Linked DNA regions of Homo sapiens: regions 1, 2, 4 and 5 are each linked to region 3. The links are contacts of gene promoters, found by promoter capture Hi-C in human tissues and cell types (Jung and others, 2019). All regions are on one chromosome and are shown on one strand. The core of a region is centred on a gene start or on the middle of the fragment in contact, and the rest is flanking DNA. Distances in the headings are between cores, read along the strand shown. Region 1 has its middle 28 kb from the start of INO80C. Region 2 overlaps ZNF24TR (ZNF24 transcription regulator). Region 3 holds the start of TPGS2 (tubulin polyglutamylase complex subunit 2). Region 4 has its middle 36 kb from the start of ZNF24TR. Region 5 overlaps LOC112268212 (a long non-coding RNA gene).

Region 1 (4,466 bases), core at 1,852-4,351, 1.3 Mb after region 3:
TGCTCTAAAATCTTTGGTAATTTTAATATATGTGTCTTCTTGTGATTGATGTCTTTTGGTTATGTTTATCCTTATGAATTGTTGAGATTCTTCTGGTTCTTCATTTGGGACATTTTGAATATTGTATTGAGACTCTGATCTTAATTGATTCTTATGGAGAAAGTTGATTTGTTTGTTTGTTTCAGCAGGCAATGAACTTGGTTAGGACCCATGTCTCACCTGCCTTTAGTGGGCTGTGGTTTTAATATCAGTTCAGTTTTCCAAGTTTTTACAGTGATATTCAGACATGTCCTCAACTGTCTACCTCCCAGTGACCGATCTGGGAACCAGGTGGTTGCCTAGTTCACAGTTCAGTTCTTGAAACTTTTGGTATGCTGTCTAGAGTCAGACCAATGCATTTATATTCCTGGAATAAGCCAACATGCTCATACATAACTTTAGGGGTTTGCTTTCTCGAATTTTCTCTTTACCATGATCTCTGTGACATGTTCTGGCCTCCAGGGATTGCTTCTCCTGGTATTCCGTCTAGAAACTGAAAATTTAGCTTCCCAACTCTGTAGCATACTTCTGACTGCATCTTTCCTCCAAAGCCAAGCAGTGGGAGAATAGACACAGACAAAAAACAATTCAAATTTTCTCTATGCTCTTCGGACTATAGTCCCTCTGGTCAGAGAGAAGGGTTCTACTCCCTCAGAATTTTAGGTGCCTCTTCAGTTGCTGCTGCTGTTACTATCACTGTCACCACCATGGGGTTTCCTGGAGGGTTGGGTGGGAGATAAAATAAATGACTAAAAATAAAGGGGAATGTCTCCCACTCTCTCTGAGTCTTATGGGCTCCCTTTCCCATCCTCAGGTCAGAAGGAGACAGCTTCTCTTGGAGCTTGCTTCGGTTTGGGTGTTTGTCACCTCCAAATCTCATGTTGAAATCTGATCCCCAATGCTGGAGGTGGGCCTAATGGGAGGTGATTGAGTCATGGGAGTGGTTCCCTCATGAATATATTAATGCCTTCCCTTGGGCATTTATTAGTTCCTGCATGAGCTGGTTGTTAAAAAGAACATGACATCTTCCCACCCCACTTCCCTGATCTCTTACCATGTACTCTCTGCACATGGTAGCTCCCCTTCACCTTCTTCTTTTTTTTTTTTTTTGAGGCAGAGTCTCACTCTGTCTCCCAGGCTGGAGTGCAGTGGCGCAATCTCTGCTCACTGCAACCTCCGCCTCCCAGGTTCGTGGGGCTTGAAGCCAAGTGTTTGGTTTTTGTTCTTCCTGAAGCTTGCACAGCTTTAGACCTCGTCTGCTAACAGCACTTGTCTGTTAGGAGATGATTCTGCCTCCTTTCTTTTCCTCCTACTCAGTGCAGAGCTTGCAGGGTCCCCAGCAGCCAGGCAGTTATTTGGGTGTTAAGTAGCCTTATGCTATTTTTAGCTCTTAGAGGATTGCAAGTGCTTTATACACAACTCTTTACTTCTTGTTTGCTTTATCTTTTCATTTTTGTTGTTGCTGTTTTTTGTTTTTGTTTTTGTTTTGAGACAGAGTCTCGTTCTGTTGCCCAGGCTGGAGTGCAGTGGTGTTATCTCAACTCACTGCAAGCTCCTCCTCCCAGGTTCAAGCAGTTCTTGTGCTCCTGGAGAGCTGTGATTACAGGCGCATACCACCATGCCTGGCTAATTTTTTATTTTTTTATTTTTTGTATTTTTAGTAGAGACGGGGTTTTGCCATGCTAGCCAGGCTGGTCCTGAACTCCTGGCCTCAAGTGATATGCCCGCCTCAGCCTCCCAAAGTGCTAGGATTACTGGCATGAGCCACTGCACCCAGCCTGTTTGCTTTATCTTTTCTAAAGCTCAAAACAAATAGGAAAGAGCTTCACTTGCTCCCTCCAGGCAGCTACTGAATGAGAGTCTCCGCAGAGCCAGCACTTAGTTGACACCAGCCCAGCTCCAGGCTGCACGTGACTTGGAGGAGGATCCGAGACATGCCTCTTCTTCCTCCATCATGGGAGGCAGCGTTAGCCACAATGTCTCACCTTCAGCCCACGACCTTCCAACAGATACATGCCAAGTTTCCTGTCCTGCTTCCTGTCATTGCTGCCTAGGAAACAACTCTCCAAAGAAGGAACCACCACTAGTTTGACTTGCTCTTCTCCAAGCTCCTCTTACACATCTCAGAAGGGGTCACTGAGCTAGTGGCTGTTTTCTTACACTCTTCATATGTACAGCACTGCTGATCTGGTCTCTGTTACTCTTTACATTTGAAAATGTCTTAACATTCTATTATGCACTCCGTTAAGACTTTTTATTTTTTGAGACAGAGTTTTGCTCTGTCACCCAGCCTGGAGTGCAGGGACATGCTCATAGCTCACTGCAGCCTCCAACTCCTGGGCTCAATAGGTCCTCCCACCTCAGCCTCCCAAGTAGCTGGTACTACAGGTGTGCACCACCATGCTCAGCTAATTTTTTATTTTATTATTACTTTCTATAGAGATGGGGTCTTGCTATGTTGCCCACGCTGGTCTCGAACTCCTGGTCTAAAGTGATCCTCCTGTCTTGGCTCCCCAAAGCACTGGGATTACAGGTGTAAGATGTATAGATGATACAAATAGATGACTATTTAATAGTCATCTGCATGCCATATTTTTTGAGGTGGAGTTTCAAAGCCTTGGAAGCAGTCCTACATTCATGAGTCCTTTGGAACCAGCTCAGGTCAAATGGCTCCTTCTGTGTGTACCCAGCCTTCCTTTCTGGGCCCAAGCAGGGACCTGACTTTGGGTCACACCTGGCTCTCCCATATGGAATAAATGCAAGCTCTCTCCCTTACACTGCTCCATTCCAGTTCTTGGCCTGCCTAACTCATATATCAGCTGCAAACAGGCCAAGGAGAAGAGGAGAGGACCTGGAAGCAGTTAACATGTGGTTTATTTGCGGGTCAACTCTAGCTTATTGCTCTTATGACAGCATGTAATTGTAACGAGACCTGGTGCTGTTGCTCCCAATTACTGCTTACATCCTGAATCTTGGTGTGTCTGGACTGTGTTTTCGGGTTGGGTTATCAGCGCTGCAGTTAGCCTGATTATTTGGTAATCTTGGTATATGCCTCTTGAGCCCAAGCTCTGGCTTTGTATCTCGATGCTTCCTCAGAGGGTTTTCCTTATAATAACTGTAATAATGGCAGTTACTCTTTACCAAGTATGTGCTGACTGAGAACTATTTTAGACCATTTTACATGCATTAGCCTATGTGTTTCTCCCAGTAACTCTGAAAGATAAACTGCCGAGGGTCAGAGAGGTTAAGGAACTAGCCCAAGCTCACATAGCACAGCTAGTTCAACGACAGACTTGAAAATAATACTCAAATCTGCTTGACTCCAAAGTGTGTGCTGCTTCATTTCCTCTGCACCAGACTTGCGACCTTCTGCTCAGAAGGGCCTGGAGAGTATGCTGAGTTCTGGGTATTTCCATGGCTGGAGATTTCACAAGCTCATGCCTGACCCATGTGGCCTGGAGAATTTCCTTGGGTTGGGTTTCTGGTTTGCTCCTGCCTTCCCTGTGAGGCAGCAGCAGTTCCGCCCGAGCCGCTTCCCTCTTCAGTATTCACTGTTCAGCTCCTGTCAATCCCACTGCATAAGTACAAATTCAACTTGTCCACCCCTCACTGAGAAAGCCAGGTACACCCCCATGGAGAAAATTGCATGGATGTATTTGGAATTAACTCAATTGATGATGTATAAAAATACTTAAAGACATTTGGGAAACTGGGGCTGGAGTTTTGTTCAAACTGGCAGTAGCAGGTCGGATAGGACAAGATGTAGAGTGCAGATTTTCTATTAAAAATATAGGGGAGAAGTGACTTCGTTGAAGCCTTGGTAGCAGCAGGTTGCCATGGTAACACAGGCACACTGATCTGAATTAGAAAGAAATTACTATAGGGTCGAACTACACCAGAGGGAAAAAAGAGCTTGTGTGTGAAGGGGATGGCAGGGAGGAGAAGGGGGGGAAGTACTGGGCTGGGAAGGAGAGGAGAAAGAGGAAGTTGTCTCCAGAACAGGAAGAGCAAGGATGGGGACCATATTGAGGCAAGGAGTGATCTCTCTAGGGTTTTCTCTTCTTTTTTAGAAATTTCTATAACTAAAAGTAAAAAAGGCAGAAACAGGACTGGCAGGTGAGGTTGTTCCCCATCTCATAAATGAGGACTGCTTTAGTGTGCCAAGCATGTAGTGTGCCAGGCATGTAGTGTGCCAGGCATGTCTCCAATCCTCCCCCAAGTCACTTGCAGCCTGGAGCTGGGCTGGTGTCAACTAAGTGCTGGCTGACAGCTCTGCAGAGACTCTCATTCGGTAGCTGCCTGGGGGGAGCAGGTGAAGCTCCTTCCTATTTGTTTTGAGCTTTAGAAAAGATAAAACAAACAGGCCAGGCGCAGTGGCTCACACCTGTAATCCCAGCACTTTGGGAGGCCAAGGGGCGGGAGGGCGG
Region 2 (4,450 bases), core at 765-3,264, 1.4 Mb after region 3:
GTCATGGAAGAAAATCTTACTCATGAATCCCAAATGCTGCCTTTCAAACTTTAGTTACGATAAAGTATCAACTAGTTACTAAGTGGGAAATCCACTTTCTTTCTTTCTTTTTTTTTTAACTGCTATTTTAACTATTACACAATCCACAAGAACTATTATTAATATGTACTTTAAAAATTCTGGTTTGACTTATTCTGATTCAAAATGTAATATATTACTTGTTAGGACTTGAACAGATTGTGAAAGTTGCTCCTACCTTAAGAAATAGTATTATTTGCAGAACACCCCTTTAAAGAGTTTTTGGAAATGACTCAGAATGCCCAGTTACTCCACCACATTCTACCCTGTAGGAATTGTGATAAAGAAGCAGTGCTTTCCGGTGATAGCTAGGTGCAATAAAACCAAACAAGTAGATTCCATACCTCATCGTGCATATGCAAAGCCTAGCCCATTCTTTCCTGCAGTAGTTGGTGAGGTTATCAATATGTGTCTGATTTTCATCCATCAAATGTTTCTTGAGCTGCCATTGTTTTATGGGGAGAGGGACGATTTGAGAAGGGGAGAGATGCTCTCAAAGGGAAATTTGGGAAGAAGCTTCTCTTGTTCTGAGTACAGATATCTCAAAATATAACATTAGTGTCTTGATTTGCATATTTGTGGTACATAACACATTGTAATACCATTCAAATTATAAAATACTTTCTCTTTTTTTTTTTTTTTTTTTTTGAGACAGGGTCTCACTCCATCACCCAGGCTGGAGTGCAGTGGTGCCATCTTGGCTCACTGCAACCTCCCTCTTCCAGGCTCAAGCAATCCTCTCACCTCAGCCTCCCTATAGCTGGACTACAGGCACGCACCACCACACCTGGATAATGTTTATATTTTTTCGTAGAGACAGGGTTTTGCCATGTTGCCCAGGCATGCCTCGAACTCCTGGGCTCAAGTGATCGGCCTGCCTCCGCCTCCCAAAGTGCTGGGACTACAGGCATGAGTCACCGCTGCACCCAGCCATAAAGAAATAAATGGAAAAAAAGTCCTGGCAACGGTCTTTGAAAAACTGAAATATACTCCATGAACCCTGTCATGCAGACCTGCCCAACTCTGCAATCTTAGCATCTCATTGTTTTGTTTTCCCTGTCATGTCTGCAGCTCATCTGTCTCTTGGGCTTCTTCCTATCTCGGTCCTGGTCCCCATCCCCTGTGTTTTACTCTTTGCCAGCTTTTTTTCTGGTTTTATGTTCTTCCTTGTCCAGAGCACGACCTTCATCTGTGTATGAGTCAACACAGAAAACCTGACCCAAAAAGGCCAGGTCCAGGAAGGGTGCAGCTCAGCTTTTACTGAGTGTCCTGTATGCTTTGTCAAGTCCTCCTTACGGGTTGTCTCATTTAGTTAGCAATGGATTTGGCATTTCAAGAGGAAACAAGGTTTAGAAGTCTCACAAAACAATCAGCCAATCAAAGAAGCCATAGAGCTACTGAGTGACTTCAACATCTCCAAACTCATTTCTGAGTATGGCCCACACTTAGAGAATGATCTGATAGTATTCATTTCTCTGGGCTGTTTCCTCATTTTCCCTTGAGTAGTAACTAGTGAATCAAAGGATCCCCGAGTTAAGCAAAATCCAACTCATCCACTCCTAGCTGAAGGTTCTAATGCTGCTCATTTCCATAAAACAAAGATTTCCCAGAGCCTGAAGTGGCTTCCTGTTGGCTACTTAAACAGCACAACATATGGTAAAATCAGACTATTAGTTTCTATAAAAAAGTTTATATATATATTAAAAAGGCCTACTACAATTTTGATTGGAATTGCATTGAACCTATAGATCAATTGGAAAAGAATGAGTATCTTAATATTGAGTTTTCTGAAACATAAACTTGACTCATCCTTCCATTTATTTAGATCTTCTTTAATTTCTCTCAGTAATGTTTTATAGTTTCCAGTATAGAAGCCTTGCGCATATTTTATCAAATTTATTCCTAAATATTTTATGGTTTTTGGTTGCTATTATAAATGGTCTTTAAAAAATTTATTTACAAGCGGTAGTATTCACTTTTGTGATATATATTTCTATGATAGATTCTCTTTTTTTTTTGAAAAACTGGGATATAAATTACATATATTAAAAAGCCTTTTAAAGTGTCCAACCCAGTGGTTTTTAATATATTCACAAGGTTGTGCAACTGTCACGACTATCTGATTTTTAGAACATTTCTATAATCCCCTCAAAGAAGCCCCCAGTCTATTAGTAGTCATTTCCCCCTCCCTCTAGCCCCTGCCAACCACTAATCTGTTTTCTGTCTCTGTGGACTGAGCTATTCTATTTATTTTGTATAAGGAGAATCATATAAATAGAATGATATAATATGTCACCTTTTGTGTCTGGCTTCTTTCACTTAGAATAATGTTTTCAAAGTTTATCTTCATTATGGCATATATCAGAATTTCATTCCTTTTTATGGTTGAATAATATTCCATTGTGTGGGTAAACCATATTTTGTTTATCCATTGTCCATCAATGACACTTGAGTTTCTCCCTCCTTTTGGCTATTATAAATAGTGCTGCTATAAACACTCATGTACAAGTGTTTGTTTGAATATTTGTTTTCAGTTCTTTTGAGTATATATCTAGGAGTGAAATTGCTGAGTCATATTATAATTCTGTGTTTAACTTTTACAGGAACCACCAAACTGTTTTCCACAGAGGCTGCATCAATTGACATTCCCACTAGCAATGGATGAGGGTTCCAATTTTTCCAGATGCTCACCAACACTTGTTAATTTTGGTTTTGTTTTCATTATGGCCATTCTGGTGGGTGTAAAGTAGCATCTCATTGTGGCTTGACTGAATTTCTCTAATGAGTAATGATGTTGAGCATTTTTCATGTGCTTATTGGCTATTTGTATATCTTTGTTGGAGAAATATCTGTTCAAGTTCTTTGGCCATTTTAAAATTGGGTTGTCTTTTTGTTGTTGAATTGTAAAGTTCTTTAGATATTCTGAATACTAGATCCTTATTAAATATATGATTTGAAAATATTTTTCCCATTTTGAATGTTGTCTTTTCATTTTTTGGATAGTGTCTTTTGGTGCACCAAACTTCAAAAATTTTTTCGAAGTCCAGTTTATCAATTTTTTATTTTGTTGCCTGTGCTTTTGGTGTCATATCCAATAAGTCATTGCCAAATCCAATGTCACAAATATATTTTTGCTGCTTTCTTGTAAGAGTTATACAGTTTTAGCTCATATGTTTAGGTCTTTGATGCATTTTGAGTTAATTTTTGTATGTAGTGTAGGATAAGGGTCTAACTTCATTCCTTTGCATGTAAATATTCCATTTTTCTGGCACCATTTGTTGTAGGAACTGTCATTTCCCCATTAAATGATTTGGCATCCTTGTCAGAAATCAATTGTCCATACATGTGAGGGTTTATTTCTGGGCTCCCAATTCTATTCCATTGGTCTATACATCTGTTCCCATGCCAGTACCACACTGTTTGATTAATGTCGATTTTTAGTAAGTTTTGAAATCAGGAAGTGTGAATCCTCCAACTTTGTTCTTTTCAAGATCATTTTGGTTATATGGGTTACCTTAAGATTCCATTTGAATTTTCGGATGGGTTTTTCTATTTTTGTAAAAAATATCATTGGGATTTTGATAGGAATTGCACTGAATCTGTAGATCGCTTTGGGTAGTACTATCATATTAACAATATTAAGTCTTCCAAGCCATAAACATGGACTGTCTTTCCATTTATTTAGATTTTCTTTAATTTCTTTCAGCAATGTTTTGCAGTATTCAGTGTACAAGTCTTTTGCCTCCTTTGTTAAATTTATTCCTAAGGATGCTATTCTTTCTGATGCTAGTAAAATAGTTTTCCTAATTTCATTTTCAGATCATGCATAACCACCACCATAAACATGATTCCAACACCCCAGAGTATTCCCTCAGTCTGACCTTTTGTAAAGTGGTGCTTTTTAAAATTTAATTTTCCAATTGCTTGTTGCTAGTGTATAGAAATACGACTGATACTTTTATATTGGCCTTGTATCCTGAGACCCTGTAAATTCACTTATTAGTTCTAGACAGTTTTAATTCTTTCTTTCCAATCTTTATGCCTATTATTTCTGTTTTGTTTTGTTTTTTAAACAGGGTTTGGCTCTGTCACCCAGGCTGGAGTGCAGTGGCTTGATTCCAACTCACTGCACCCTCGACCTCCTGGGCTCAAGTCATCCTCCCACCTCAGCCTTCCAAGTAGCTGGGACTACAAGCATGAGCCACCACACCCAGCTAATTTTTTTTCTTTTCTTTTTCTTTTTTTTTTTTTTTGGAGGGTGCAGGGAGCAGAGTCTTGCTCTGTTGCCCAGGCTGGTCTCAAATTCCTGAGCTCAAGTAATTCATACACCTTGGCCTCCCAAAGTGCTAGGATTACAGGCATGAGTCACCTT
Region 3 (3,955 bases), core at 828-3,327:
GGAATCAAGATGCAAAGACATGTAACTAAATCAAATGATTAATAACTATCATTATGCTTTTCAGCAAATATTCAGTAACAAATTTACATTTGACATTGCTTACAGTGACATTCTCTATGGAGATTTAAAATGAAAATATCTGAGGCTCGATGTTAACTGGTCATTACGTGGAATAGTCTGAGGGGAAAGGTGACACTAGCAACTTTGCAATTCCTTTCATACATCTGAATTAGATCTTATAGGATATAATCGCCACCATTTTTCCCCTGTACAATTTCAATTCCTCACTATCTATGAGAGGACGAATATTTTACATTAAATGTTGGGAGTCAGAATACAAGAGATAACGGAGTATATATGACTTCTACATAAAATAGGGGGTGATATAACTACATGAGTAAGTGAAAGTACTGGGTGCGAAGACCAAGAGCTTAGGTTCAGTCCATATATCTATTAATACACTTATTCAGTCCCATTGCAATAGCTTGTCCCCCCCCCAAACCATTGATTCTATATTTGAACAGTACCATAGGATGCTATAAGCTAATAACCTTCAAGTATCTCCTCCATCACAAAATTATGTCAATGCAGAAGCAGTGTTTCTTGAGAAAAGACTTATCCCAATTTCCTAACTTCCTAATTCAGCCCAGTTGTCCACAGTGCACATATTCTCTTCTGAAAGGTAAAGGAAAAAATATTTAATTTGCACACTGCACTAGTATGCTTTCATCCACAGTGTATGTACATGATTTCATTTGCTTTTCACCAACCTATCAGAGACAAATGGTAATTATGTCTAGTAAGTGCAAACACTAAACACGAGCAGCACAGAATACAAACATATCCCTCTCTCTACACATGACACTAATCCTAGTAACTCAACAAAGGAGTTGATAACACAGTTTTGTAAGTTTCACTGGGAGCTAAGAAGAATGCCCAGTGATTCTGCCAAAGGTAACAGCAACGCCTCAATTAATGCCATCACCAATCCTAGCAAACACAAAAAGAGCTGCCTCTGCAAGCACTCAGTAACACAGATTGCCGTCCCTCTTTCAAGTAACCCCTCTAAGGAACGTGAAGTAAATTATCAGGACCAAAGCTCAAGCGAGAAGAGTCTACCTACTCCAAGGAAAGAAACACTCCTGTCACACAAACATCTCATCACTGCTGCTGAACTGGTAATACTACCACTGGACTAAAAAGTTCCACTGCTTCTCCACCTCACAACGATCCAAGAACTTCAATGACTGCCAGTGACCCGCACTCCACAAGTAAGTCAACAATACTTCCAGGCACAATGATTCCCATCTTACGCAGTAACCAGCACCACCAGACCACATCCCAGTAACCAAGCTCCACACCTCTCCTAAAACCCCAGTATTAAAATACATCATCACTGGAGGGCCTTTTAAGTCCGAAAGGTCCTGACTTGCTCCTAGCAATGCAGACTAAAGACAATCCTAAATCAAAACAAAAAGGCTCCCTGTCCAGCCAACACCGACTCCTCCCTCAACTTCGAGCTAGCTCCGCACACTCAAGTCAGCCTGGGGGCACTCTGACAGGGTGGGCAGAGGGACCTCGGAGGGCCATCTCAGCCCTGGACTGAGCCTGGACTCAAGGCTATCTTTCTCGAGCTCACCGGTAGTGAGCGCTGGGAAGCATCTGAGCCGTGTCCCCACACCTGCAGACAGTACCAGTCTCTCGGCCACCTAACACCCAAGCAAGGGGAGAGCCCAGCACCTAGACTGGGGCCGAGCAGCACGTCCCCATCCCCGGGGTTAGTTCGGAGCTTCTCCTCCGCTCTCGGACTGCCACGCGACGGCTCGCCCCTCGCCGTCCCGTGGAGGGCGCCGGCGCCCCCTGTCAGGCGGGCAAAGGATACAGTCCCGGCTCCAGAACGCCGCGGCACTGGGGCGGGAGGGGCCCGCCACGTCCGCCATCTTGAAACAACCGCCACTCGGGGCGTCGCGCCTGGGCCGCCACGCCTCGGCCTGCAGGCTCGGTCCCCATTGGCCGCACCACGCAGAGGCCCGCCCCCGCCTGCGCGGCCGGCCCCTGCGGGGCGAGAGGGTGGGGGCGAAGGGGAAGCTACGTCCCGGAGGTGCGGTGTGGGGCACCGGGCGGGGCCGCGGGAACCGGCGCCCCACGGAGCTGCTGCTGTCAGACCAACCCCGGGCCCCCATCATCACTGCGCCGCGCTTTCAGGCGCCGAGAACTACCGTTCCCGGCATGCCATGAAATTGGCCTCGGCGCTGAGGCGGGGTCCGGCCCTCCACCCGCTCCCGCCGCGCGCGAATCGCGGTCGCGAGCCATGGAGGAGGAGGCATCGTCCCCGGGGCTGGGCTGCAGCAAGCCGCACCTGGAGAAGCTGACCCTGGGCATCACGCGCATCCTAGGTGAGGAAAGGGGGCACGGTGCCGAGAGGGTGTGGAGGAGAAGGAAGGAGGAGCGGAGGGATGAGGTGCGGGGTGAGCGGTGCGACGCTGGCCCCAGAACAGGAGTGGACATCGCTGCTGGGACTTCCGTTGTTACAGAGGAAAGTGGGGGACCTGGGTTTGTGATTAGGCCTTGAAAGTGTTTGCCAGGAGTGTTCGGAGGCAGAGCTGGGAAGCCTGAAGTTTCCCCCACTCACCGCCAACCAAGGTCCCACCCAGGAAGGACGGGCAGAGACGTGCAAAGGGAACACAGCAAGCACCTGACGGTTGGGAAGTTGGATCTCCCCCTAGGAGGCATTCTCAGCCAGGGCATTATCCCCGAAACCCAAGACCTTTCTCTGGGGGAAGTAATGCACCCGACCTCCCAGGGCGACAACTACGTCGGGTCTGAAAGGAATCCAACCTTGCACCACTGAATGACTCAGAGTTTTTCTTTTATCGAACATTTCTTTGTTTGCTTGCTTGTTTGTATTTTGAGACAGAGTTTTGCTCTTGTTGCCCAGGCTGGAGTGCAATGGCGCGATCTCGGCTCACTGCAACCTGCGCCTCCTGGGTTCAAGCAATTCTCCTGCCTCGCCCAGCTATTTTTTTGTATTTTTAGTAGAGACAGGGTTCCACCATGTTGGCCAGGCTGGTCTCGAACTCCTGACCTCAGGTGATCCACCCGCCTCGACCTCCCAAAGTGCTGGAATTACAGGCGTGAGCCACCGCGCCTGGCCTATCAAACGTTTCTTTAGTACTCACCACTATGTTAGACGTGAGGTTAAAAATATGAAAAAGACACAGTTCTGTGAAAAAAATAAACAAATGAGGTCACTAGGAGTGTGAAAAGAGGTCAGTAATCTGTTACTCAGAGATGTCACAGAGGAGGGGACTGATCTTACCAGGGAAGTTAAAGAACATGTCACAGAGGAGATGATGCTAGATTTTGAAAGACATATAGGAGTTAGCCAGAAAACTAAGGAGGAGAAAGGTCTTTTAAGAAGGCTGAAAAGCATGCTTCAGTGCCTTCCCATCACAATTATAATAAAATCCAAATGTCTGTACCATGACCCACAAGTCCCTGTAAGATCTGCTCTCATCTCTTTCTGACTTTGTTTCCACTCTTGCCCACATGGCCTTCTAGCTGTACCTTAAACACACTAAGCGGGTTCCTGCTTCAGGGCTTTTGCAGTTTGCTAGTCCTTGCACCTGGAATTATCTTTCTCTGAATGTCTCGCTTCTTCAGGTCATTCAGATCTCTGATCAAATGTCATTATTTCAGAGAAACCTTCCCTGAATATAGTTCGAATAACCGCCGTCTTTCTTGCTCTCTCTTTCCTTACCCTGCTTTTTCTTTTATTCTTATAGCACTTTCACTACTTGAAATTATGTATTTGTTTGGTTGATTTTTAAAATTTGTGTCTCTTTTAATAGAAGTCCAAGACCAAGTGTGATTTAGGAATGAGTGGTTTTAACATATGAAAATCAATTAATAGCTGGGCATGGTGGCCCATGTCTTTAGTTCCAGCTACTGGGGA
Region 4 (4,226 bases), core at 1,134-3,633, 1.4 Mb after region 3:
ACCATTTAAAAAAAGATGAATCACAGACAATGAGAAAATATTTGCAGATCCATGTCTGATAAAGGGTTTGTATCTAGAATACATAACAAACTTTTATGATTCAATAATAGAAGGTCAAGCAACTTAAATTTAAAATGGGTGAAAGATTTGAGTAGCTATTTCACCAAAAAAAAGATATTCTAATGACCAATAAGCACATGAAAACACGTGTCTACACAAAGGCTTGTATGTGAATGTATATAGCATCTTGGCACTGGGGGCTGGCTCTGCAAGTGGAAGGAATGGAGGCTTGGAATGTCCTTTGGAACTTGAATAGATCTGCACTGCACAGATCAAATCTATCATGAATAGTCAGTAATGCTGATAAGAACAACAGTATTATATATTTATTCATGGTGACCATGGCATTCTGTCCCAGTATAGGCTTTGCCATTTCTAAGGCACATTGTTGACCACCATGTTATCTGAGCCTCACTCACCCAGTGGGTAAAATTCTTCCCAAGACTGGCCTCCCTGTACACCTATACCACCTTACACACCCCTTCTACCCCCATCACCTAGTCACCTCCTCACCTCCCTCCCTTAGCCTAAGAATATCCCAAGTGGCAATGGCCAAGCTACCTAGCCTGTTGTTCCTGATAAGGTAAATCTTTTCTGGTTAAGACTAAGCCCTCCCACTCTTCTAATCTCTGTCTCTTTGAAACAAAAAAATAAGTCTTATCACCCTGACATGTCTTATAAAGAGTAGAAAGGAGAGAAAAATAAGAACATTTACTATGACTGAGTTCCATTGCTGGGACTTGTAAAAATCAGTGCAAAACCACAGTAGCTAAGGAGGAGGGAGAAATGTGGTTTACTGAGATTTGCTGAAAAGAAAGAATTTCTCTCATGGGGCAACTTGCTTGGAAATAGAAGGAGCTGAAATTTAGACATGTGATTCTCATTACCAGCTACATCCTTTCAGACAGGAGGCAGAAATAATTGGATCCATTTCTATTTTAATTATAACTCTTTGGCTTTAAAGAAATTGCCAGTGGAAATCTGCAGGCCACTACAAACACTGCCGTTTCAAATTCCCCAGATTTTAATGTGGCCTGGATTTCCTTCAGCAGGGCTGAGGCCACTGCCACAATACATGTTTGCTGCTGTTATAGACTAAAAGTTTTCCCCAAACAAAAATGAACTGATCTCTCTCTTTCTGCCTTTACCTCCCCCTCCCTCCCTCATTCTATTTTTCCTTTTGAAATAAGTAGAAAGACCTTTTATATTTTGCCAACCACAAAAAATAGGAAAGAGAAGGAAGCTTTTCACCACGAATGACAGTAGAGTGCTGGCACACGGCGCTTCCTTTCTGTTGCCCTTAGGTGTCTGAAGTGGTCCCCCAACCTCTCTAAAGTTTCAGATTGAGGAATAATCATGAGTTCTGAGAAGTGCTTGAAACTGGAGGATGGGGTCCCAGTGAAGTCAAACAGCACAACCAACACTGAAACCTCTGCAGTTGAACCTCATTAGAGCTGGTCCTCCTCACTTTCTTCCCATCAGTCTCTCTGTCTCAAAGACATTCTTGGCAGAGTTGGAAGGGAATTCCAGCAAGATAATACCATCCAGTGCCCAAGGCAGGGGATGCAGTGTCCATGTGGCCCCCCAAAAGATCACTGCTCCCATGTTCCTGAGAGAGGAACCTGATGGATATCTGAGGTCCCCATGCCAGTCCTCTGATATTGGCCCCACTGAAGAGATTGGTGGCTTGTTGACCACAGCCTGCCCAGGATAAAGGCTGGACTAGTCTTACTTTTGAAGCTGAGCAAATAAATATAGAAGCACAATCCATGCTGTGGCCACAATTTTGTTTTAAATTAAAATTTAAAACAAATTTTAATTTAAATTTGTTTTAATGTAAATTTAAATCCCAAAAACAAATGGCCAGAGACATGCACCATTGTTGGCTTTGAAGATGAAGAAGGGGCCATGAGCCAAGATAAAATGGTTATGTATGCTCGAATGTTTTGCTTGCTCTAATTTGCCCTGCACTTAAATGCTTTACTCAAATTCACTAAAATATAATTCAATAAGTCTTTAAAAGTCACTTTAGTAGGGAAGTAGAACAGCGTTTGTTTATTTGGTTGCTTTCTTGATTTATGCACATATGCAAATAGAAATGTGAGGCATGCATGGAACACGTACACACACACACACACCCTCCAAGAAATAAACATAGCAAAGCATTGCTGTTTAATTAAACTAAACACAAGGTTTGCACCACGTTAATAATACAACTTCCGAATACACAAAGTATATACGTGAGAATGCCAAAGTGTTAGTATTTGGAAATGTTACTGTTTGAAAACCTTACATTCAAGAGGTTTTAGCATGAGCAATAAGCAGCAAGGAACAAGTATAGATAACTGTGTGAGTATGCATGTGCCAGCAATGTCTGGCAATCAGCTATCCAAAAACAAGGAAGTCTGGGAGATAAACCCTTGTTTACAAAATGACAATCTTTGCCTAGAAATGATGCCCAAGAGACAGTTGTGCGTCAACCAACCACAAGCGGTTTTGTTCTTGTTTTGTTTTTTAGGTTTTCCCTTTTCCACACATTCTCTAATAAATCTGAACAAACTAACTTTGACATTTCCTAATGTTTCAAAAAAGGAAGTAAGCTAAAGTCATAAAACACCTTGCTCAACAATAATTTTCTTGGGTTTTTAATCTTGCTTGGAACAGATAGGCGTGATTCACATCCAAGTCAACATGGCCTTTTGTAAGCTGACTCACAGAGAGGGGATGCTGGGGACCCTACCCTCATCCTGGTGGCTCTTCTCTATTTGAGCCCCAGCAAAGGCCACCAGCAGTGGGCACCAGCCACCTTATCAGATGGGCCAAAGACTTGTTGTCATCACTGATTTACATTTCTATAATTTTTTTAAAGTTACATAGTGATTTTTTCCATCAACGAGGGCCCATTTGGCATTACTGAATCTCTGTTTAGAGAGAAAAAGGAAGGGCCTTTTCCTTCTCCAAACAAATTCTGAATGCAGCCAAGACTGGCAAGTCATGCAAAGGAGTTTCTCAGTTTGCCTTGCACCTTTTTGTGAAGATTTCATATCTCTTTTATTTATGATAGTGACACTGGAAAACTTTCCTTGAAGTTTCTTATGCAGAACTTGAATCCCTTCTCTCATGGTTTTTCCAGTCCTGTTATTATTGGCATCTCCTGGCTCCTACCCCTAACCATATGCCTAAAACCTATGGATAAATAATTGAGGAGGGGACTGTGGCAGACACCCCCTCAAAAATGTTCATGTCCTAATCCCTGGTACCTGTGACTGTGTTAGGTTACATGGCAAAGCAGAATTAAAGTTGTGGATGAAATTACGGTTGCTAGTGAGCTGATGTTAAAACAGAGAGAAAAATCTAGATTATTCAAGTGGGCCCAATATAATGTTAAGGGTCCTTAAAAGTGAAAGAGACAGTCAGAAAGGAAAATGTAAATACCAAAACAAATGGCCAGAGACATGTACCATTGTTGGCTTTGACGATGAAGGAAGGGGCCATGAGCTAAGGAATGTGGTGGCTTCTAGCAACTGGAAAAAGCAAGGAAACACATTCTCCCCTAGAGCCTCCAGAAAGGAAGCAGGCCTGCTGTCACTTTAATTTTAGCTCACTAAGACTGATTTGGGCCAGGCGTGGTGGCTCACGCCTCTAATCCCAGCACTCTGGGAGGCCGAGGCAGGTGGATCACCTGAGGTCAGGAGTTTGAGACATCCTAGCCAACATAGTAAAACCCCGTCTCTATTAAAAATACAAAAATTAACTGATGTGTGGCACACACCTGTAGTCCCAGCTACTTGGGAGGCTGAGGCAGGAGAATTGCTTGAACCTGGGGGGTGGAGGTTGCAGTGAGCTGAGATGGCACCGCTGCACTCCAGCCTGGGTGACAGAGCGAGACTCCATCTCAAAAAAAAGAAAAAAAAAAAAAGACTGATTTGGACTTCTAACCTCCAGAACTGTAAGAAAATAAATGTGTATTATTTTAAACCACTAAATTTGCTGTAATTTGTTACAGCAGCAATAGAATATGAATACAAGATTGAACACTTCACTGCTAGCCTCTCTCCTTTGATACCACCATGCCTAATGGTCCACCTCAAATCACTAATTTTGTTAGGTTTGATAATGTCATAGGAAAAATATTTTTAAAATACTATCCTTATCTGATAGAAACC
Region 5 (4,240 bases), core at 1,149-3,648, 1.7 Mb before region 3:
TGAATGTGCAACCAGTGTTCAGAAACATTGGTTTAGGCCAGCGGTTCTCAAAATGTGATTCTGCCATCAGCATCTTGAGCATTACCTGGAAACTGATTAGAAATGCAAAGTCTCTGACTCCAGAACTGCTGAATCAAATATCCAAATATGGTTGCTCATCACAGTTATCTGGGGAGAATTTTGAAAATAGGTACTCCTCATCTTCACCATCAGTTCCAGTTTCTGATACAGAAAATGTGGGCAAGGTCAGGAAATGCCATTCTTCTCCTCCACCTGCTTCTTCTTCCTCAAGAATTCTAAAGATTTGACAGTTATGGGAGCCATGTTGAAAATATATATTTTGAAAAGAGTTGTAATTGAGGAAATCTGAATTTCAGTCCCGCCACTGTAGGTAACTGACCAAGAGACCTTGGACCAGGCACTTCTCCTGCCTCCCTTGAATCAAAGCTTCTATATCAACCACTGCTGACTCCCACACTTCCAGGGAAGTTCCAATGAACTTGAATGATGTTTGAAGCTTCAGAGCTCTATGTAAATGTGAAGTATTGCTATCAAGACATCTTAGAATGAAAGATAATATTTTCTTCTTTACTTTTACTCCTTAGAAGACTATTACCTACTAGTATGTCCCTTTTATTTCTTATTTAATAAAAAACCTACAGAAAGATAAATTGGACTCAGCTATCTTCATTTCCATAATTACTTACAGCTAAGCTTGGTCCTAGGAAGCTCATATTGTAACAATGCCTCTCAGTCTTTTCTCCCTCTCTCCTTTTCTCACCTCTCTTCTCTTTGTCTCTTTGTGTTCCAGACAGGGTCTCTCTTTCCACTCTCTTTCTTTCTCTTTTTTTTTATGATTAGTATTTAAGAATCAAAAAGTGGAAGTCAAGTTGTTGAGCTTTCTGAGACAGATGAGGCCAAGCCGTCCACTGGGAGCACTCAGCACCAGCGTCTTGCTGTAACCCAGCATATGGAGTCCAATCTCCAGGCACTGACATTAACACTCCTGCTTCAGGTAACTCATTTAGCTTTGGTGTCATTTTACAATAAATATACCATCCACTGACACAAATTAGACAGCTATTGAGATTAATTTTGAGGCACTATCGGCAACATCTTAAATCAAAAATGATTCTTTATTAGCATGCTTGGCGGTATAGTGTGCCTGCCCTCCCCCTCCTGATCCCTGCCACAAGAATAAATGAGGCCCCATGGTTGACATAGCGCATCAAGTGTTTTATAATAGTCTAATTGTAGCTAATGGTTTGTGCAGCTAATTAAGGCCCTATGAATTACAGTAATCAGTCAAGCTCATCCTTTAAACCAGATAGTTCTATTCAACCGTTCCTTCAGTAAGAAACAAAATATATAACTATATATGACTATAAGTACATAGGCACACACACAGACATCCAAACTGGCCATGCTGATCAGGTAGGTTTATTTGAGCACAAAGAAGTTAAAGGACTGATTTTGTTCCTTTTACTTATAAAAAAATATTTATTTCAAGAGACACAGGTTTTCATCAACAACTGCAGTTACCATGGGCAGGACAAAGGTGGAATCTTCAGTCTGGCATTTACCTGAAAACTGAGAATGGAGTTGGCACTAAGTGTAGCATATCTCCCCTCTTACCTCAGAGACTTCATGCAGGTTGCAGCTCAAGAGTGACTATTTGGCATTTATTATGTTGTAGGAATCCAAATGTCTGAGAGAAATGGTGACAAATAAGCCATCTGAATCCAATAGTTGAAAATTCAAAATGCACAAAACTCTATTTGCCACCTGGATAGTTGACAAAGCCTTCAACATGATTAGGTTCTTTTAGTGGCAGTAAGAATTTAGTGACCAATTCAGGGGCAATTAGAGGAATGGGATGGTTTGTCTTTTGTAATGAACTTTTTTTGAGAAAAAAATATCCTAAATAGAAGATGGATTACGTTACAAAAATCTCTCCAGAGGCCCAGATGGATATTCCATGTCTTGGTTTATTTAAAACCTGACTGGACATTGCAGGAAAGAACTTTGGAAGCAATTCCGTAAAGCCCCTGGGGAACAGAAGAAGGGAGCAATAGGTCTTTTCCAGCACTTGTATTTTTGATTCTTTGAGAAAGAGAAAAATCCATAGAAATGTCATCAGCATGACCTCTGCTGGAACAACATGTGCCCCAGTCCCCCAGGGTCCCATTGCCAATGAGAAGTAGGAAAAGAAACAGGGATTTTCATGAAGGTCACATGTTTCCATTTTTTCCAGCTCACAGAGCTGGTTAGTACCTTGCAAGATCAACCAGTTCTTTACCTCATTTTTAGACAAGATTAGATTTAACTACCCCACATAGACGATTGCAGAACCATTTCCATTATATAAAATATGTTTCTGTGGCATAAGCTAATGGTATATTCTCACTTCCGGAAACTACTTCCTTCTATCTGGTCAAAATTTTCTTACTGTAATGGAGGGTCATTTCTTTATAATTTTATAGGAAATGAGTCAGTATCCCTTATAAGTCTGTGCCACTCTTTTTCATTTGCCAGGTCAAATTATTCTTGTCTCATTAAATTACCCCTGCAGGTCTTATTAGCTCATCATTGTGATGTAGTGGAAAGCTCACTGGTCAAGAAAAGTAAGTGCTACCTGCCTTTTAAACTAGTCAGTGTTAGTAATTTATTACAACTCTCATTATTTATATCTATAGGTGGAAACCATGTATCTTCTTTCTAAAGAATCCAACTATTAAGTGTAGAGCTTTCTTTATTTTTGAAGTAGGTTGATCTGCTTAACAAATATCAGTGTTAGCTGTTCATAAAATGTTGTTTGTTATTTATGTATTTTTATTTATATTTCTGCAAGGCTACTAATATGCTTTTCATGGTCGTCCATGATGGCATTATAAGTGTTCTTTTTATCTATTAAATACACTTGTGAAGCATTAGCTTCATGTTGACATTTGATTATACACACTTCAAGGCTTTCTGTGACGTTTTCTCCCTTGAAGATGACCAGATGTTATAGGAAATCAGATTGATGAAGATAAAGAGTGTTATTTCCCTGGCTCTCATGCTACCTTTTCTCCCTCCTTCTTCTGTTCTTTCCATATTTTCCCTGACCTGTCACAGAATGGTCCCTGTACTCTTTATGGGGTTATTAACCCAGGTCATTTTTAGCTTGTTTTGACCCAGGTAATTTTGAAATAGATGTTTCCGGTTCAAGCCAAAAAAAAAAAAAAAAAAAAAAAAAAAAGCCTATCCATACTTGGGATGCTGGTTGAACAGGGTCTTGAGCTTTATTTACACTGTACCAAAACAGACAGTTGATAAGTGCTCTTCCTCACCTGCTGTTTGCCTTCTTCTGCAGGATAGCGTCTATAGTCCTTTCAGCATGTAAAATGACTTTACCAGTCCTTCTGGACACAACCAATATTGCTATTTTATCCTGTTGGGTTTTGGCCATACAGGGGAGTAGACATTCTGTTCCTACCACGTTTTACATTCTAAATTTCAAGCATCTCAAAAGTAAGGACAATAATGCATAAGTAATTCCATTAACCCACCACGGTGCTCACTCATTCCCATAAAGGTATGAAGTACAAAATATAGCTTTGGCAGCTAAAGAAATGTCAGTTCTAGCTAAAGTGTTTACGTTATCTGCATAGCTGGAGCTCTAGAGCATTCCTCTTGGATAGACATACACCTATCTAAAAATGCAGACCTGGGCCAACTGAAACTCAAAGGTCCCTTCAGCTTCACAGACCTACTCCACACATCCACTAAATAAGGGCAACAAAACCCCAATTGCTCACAAATAGCTGAATGCAGAGTCCAGCCAGCTGCTTTTAGTTGACTTAGTATTATTTTTCTCGTTTTGTTTGATCCCGCTCCAGAAAGTGGACACTATATTAATCGTATTTATAAATACTGTATGTACCAGTTGCAGAGCCACAGGGCTCATTTAAAAAGAAAGATTAAACACATAAATTATTATAATAAATTAAGCTGTCAAATTTATTACTCCCAGCACCCAGAGTATCTAAAAAGACCTTGGTCGAAATCAAGGGATAATATGGAAAACAATGGACCACCAGAAACACCAACACATCATCGAAATGTTTCGGAAAAATCATCTGATATGTGGATCCCTCTTCAAGATGGTTCAAGGCCTCTTGGTAATAGAGAAAACACAGCATTTCCTCTTACGCATTCTATACTTCTTCAGCTTCCACCTACTGCAGTTATCCAGTTG

The links. Contacts are between HindIII fragments. The study calls those that stand out against the background at their distance.
Region 1: a fragment that was not itself captured here is called in contact with the fragment with the promoter of TPGS2 in region 3 in 1 of the 25 tissues and cell types used here (IMR-90 fibroblasts).
Region 2: a fragment that was not itself captured here is called in contact with the fragment with the promoter of TPGS2 in region 3 in 1 of the 25 tissues and cell types used here (aorta).
Region 4: a contact is called between a fragment that was not itself captured here and the fragment with the promoter of TPGS2 in region 3, in 1 of the 25 tissues and cell types used here (heart right ventricle).
Region 5: a contact is called between a fragment that was not itself captured here and the fragment with the promoter of TPGS2 in region 3, in 1 of the 25 tissues and cell types used here (small bowel).

The regions. Positions count from the first base shown.
Region 1 is chr18:35,523,461-35,527,926 of GRCh38, reverse strand. No RefSeq gene overlaps it. Among named protein-coding and RNA genes, the nearest start is that of INO80C, 28 kb to the right of the region's middle. The HindIII fragment of the contact is 5,625 bases long and covers 289-4,466 here.
Region 2 is chr18:35,453,200-35,457,649 of GRCh38, reverse strand. The region is part of intron 1 of ZNF24TR (ZNF24 transcription regulator); the gene reads left to right. Among named protein-coding and RNA genes, the nearest start is that of ZNF24TR, 12 kb to the left of the region's middle. The HindIII fragment of the contact is 3,768 bases long and covers 131-3,898 here.
Region 3 is chr18:36,827,124-36,831,078 of GRCh38, reverse strand. It overlaps TPGS2 (tubulin polyglutamylase complex subunit 2), which reads left to right and starts at 2,077. Exons shown (of 7, transcript NM_015476.4): 1 at 2,077-2,396. The coding sequence starts at 2,312. KIAA1328 reads right to left here and starts at 1,952. Exons shown (of 10, transcript NM_020776.3): 1 at 1,883-1,952. The coding sequence starts at 1,940. RefSeq lists a silencer at 1,718-2,317 and enhancers at 1,715-2,507, 2,608-2,717. The HindIII fragment of the contact is 11,405 bases long and covers 1-3,955 here.
Region 4 is chr18:35,429,483-35,433,708 of GRCh38, reverse strand. No RefSeq gene overlaps it. Among named protein-coding and RNA genes, the nearest start is that of ZNF24TR, 36 kb to the left of the region's middle. RefSeq lists a silencer at 1,273-1,486. The HindIII fragment of the contact is 7,027 bases long and covers 1-4,226 here.
Region 5 is chr18:38,569,690-38,573,929 of GRCh38, reverse strand. LOC112268212 (a long non-coding RNA gene) reads left to right here. Exons shown (of 3, transcript XR_002958210.1): 3 at 1-671. Among named protein-coding and RNA genes, the nearest start is that of MIR4318, 910 kb to the right of the region's middle. The HindIII fragment of the contact is 3,564 bases long and covers 617-4,180 here.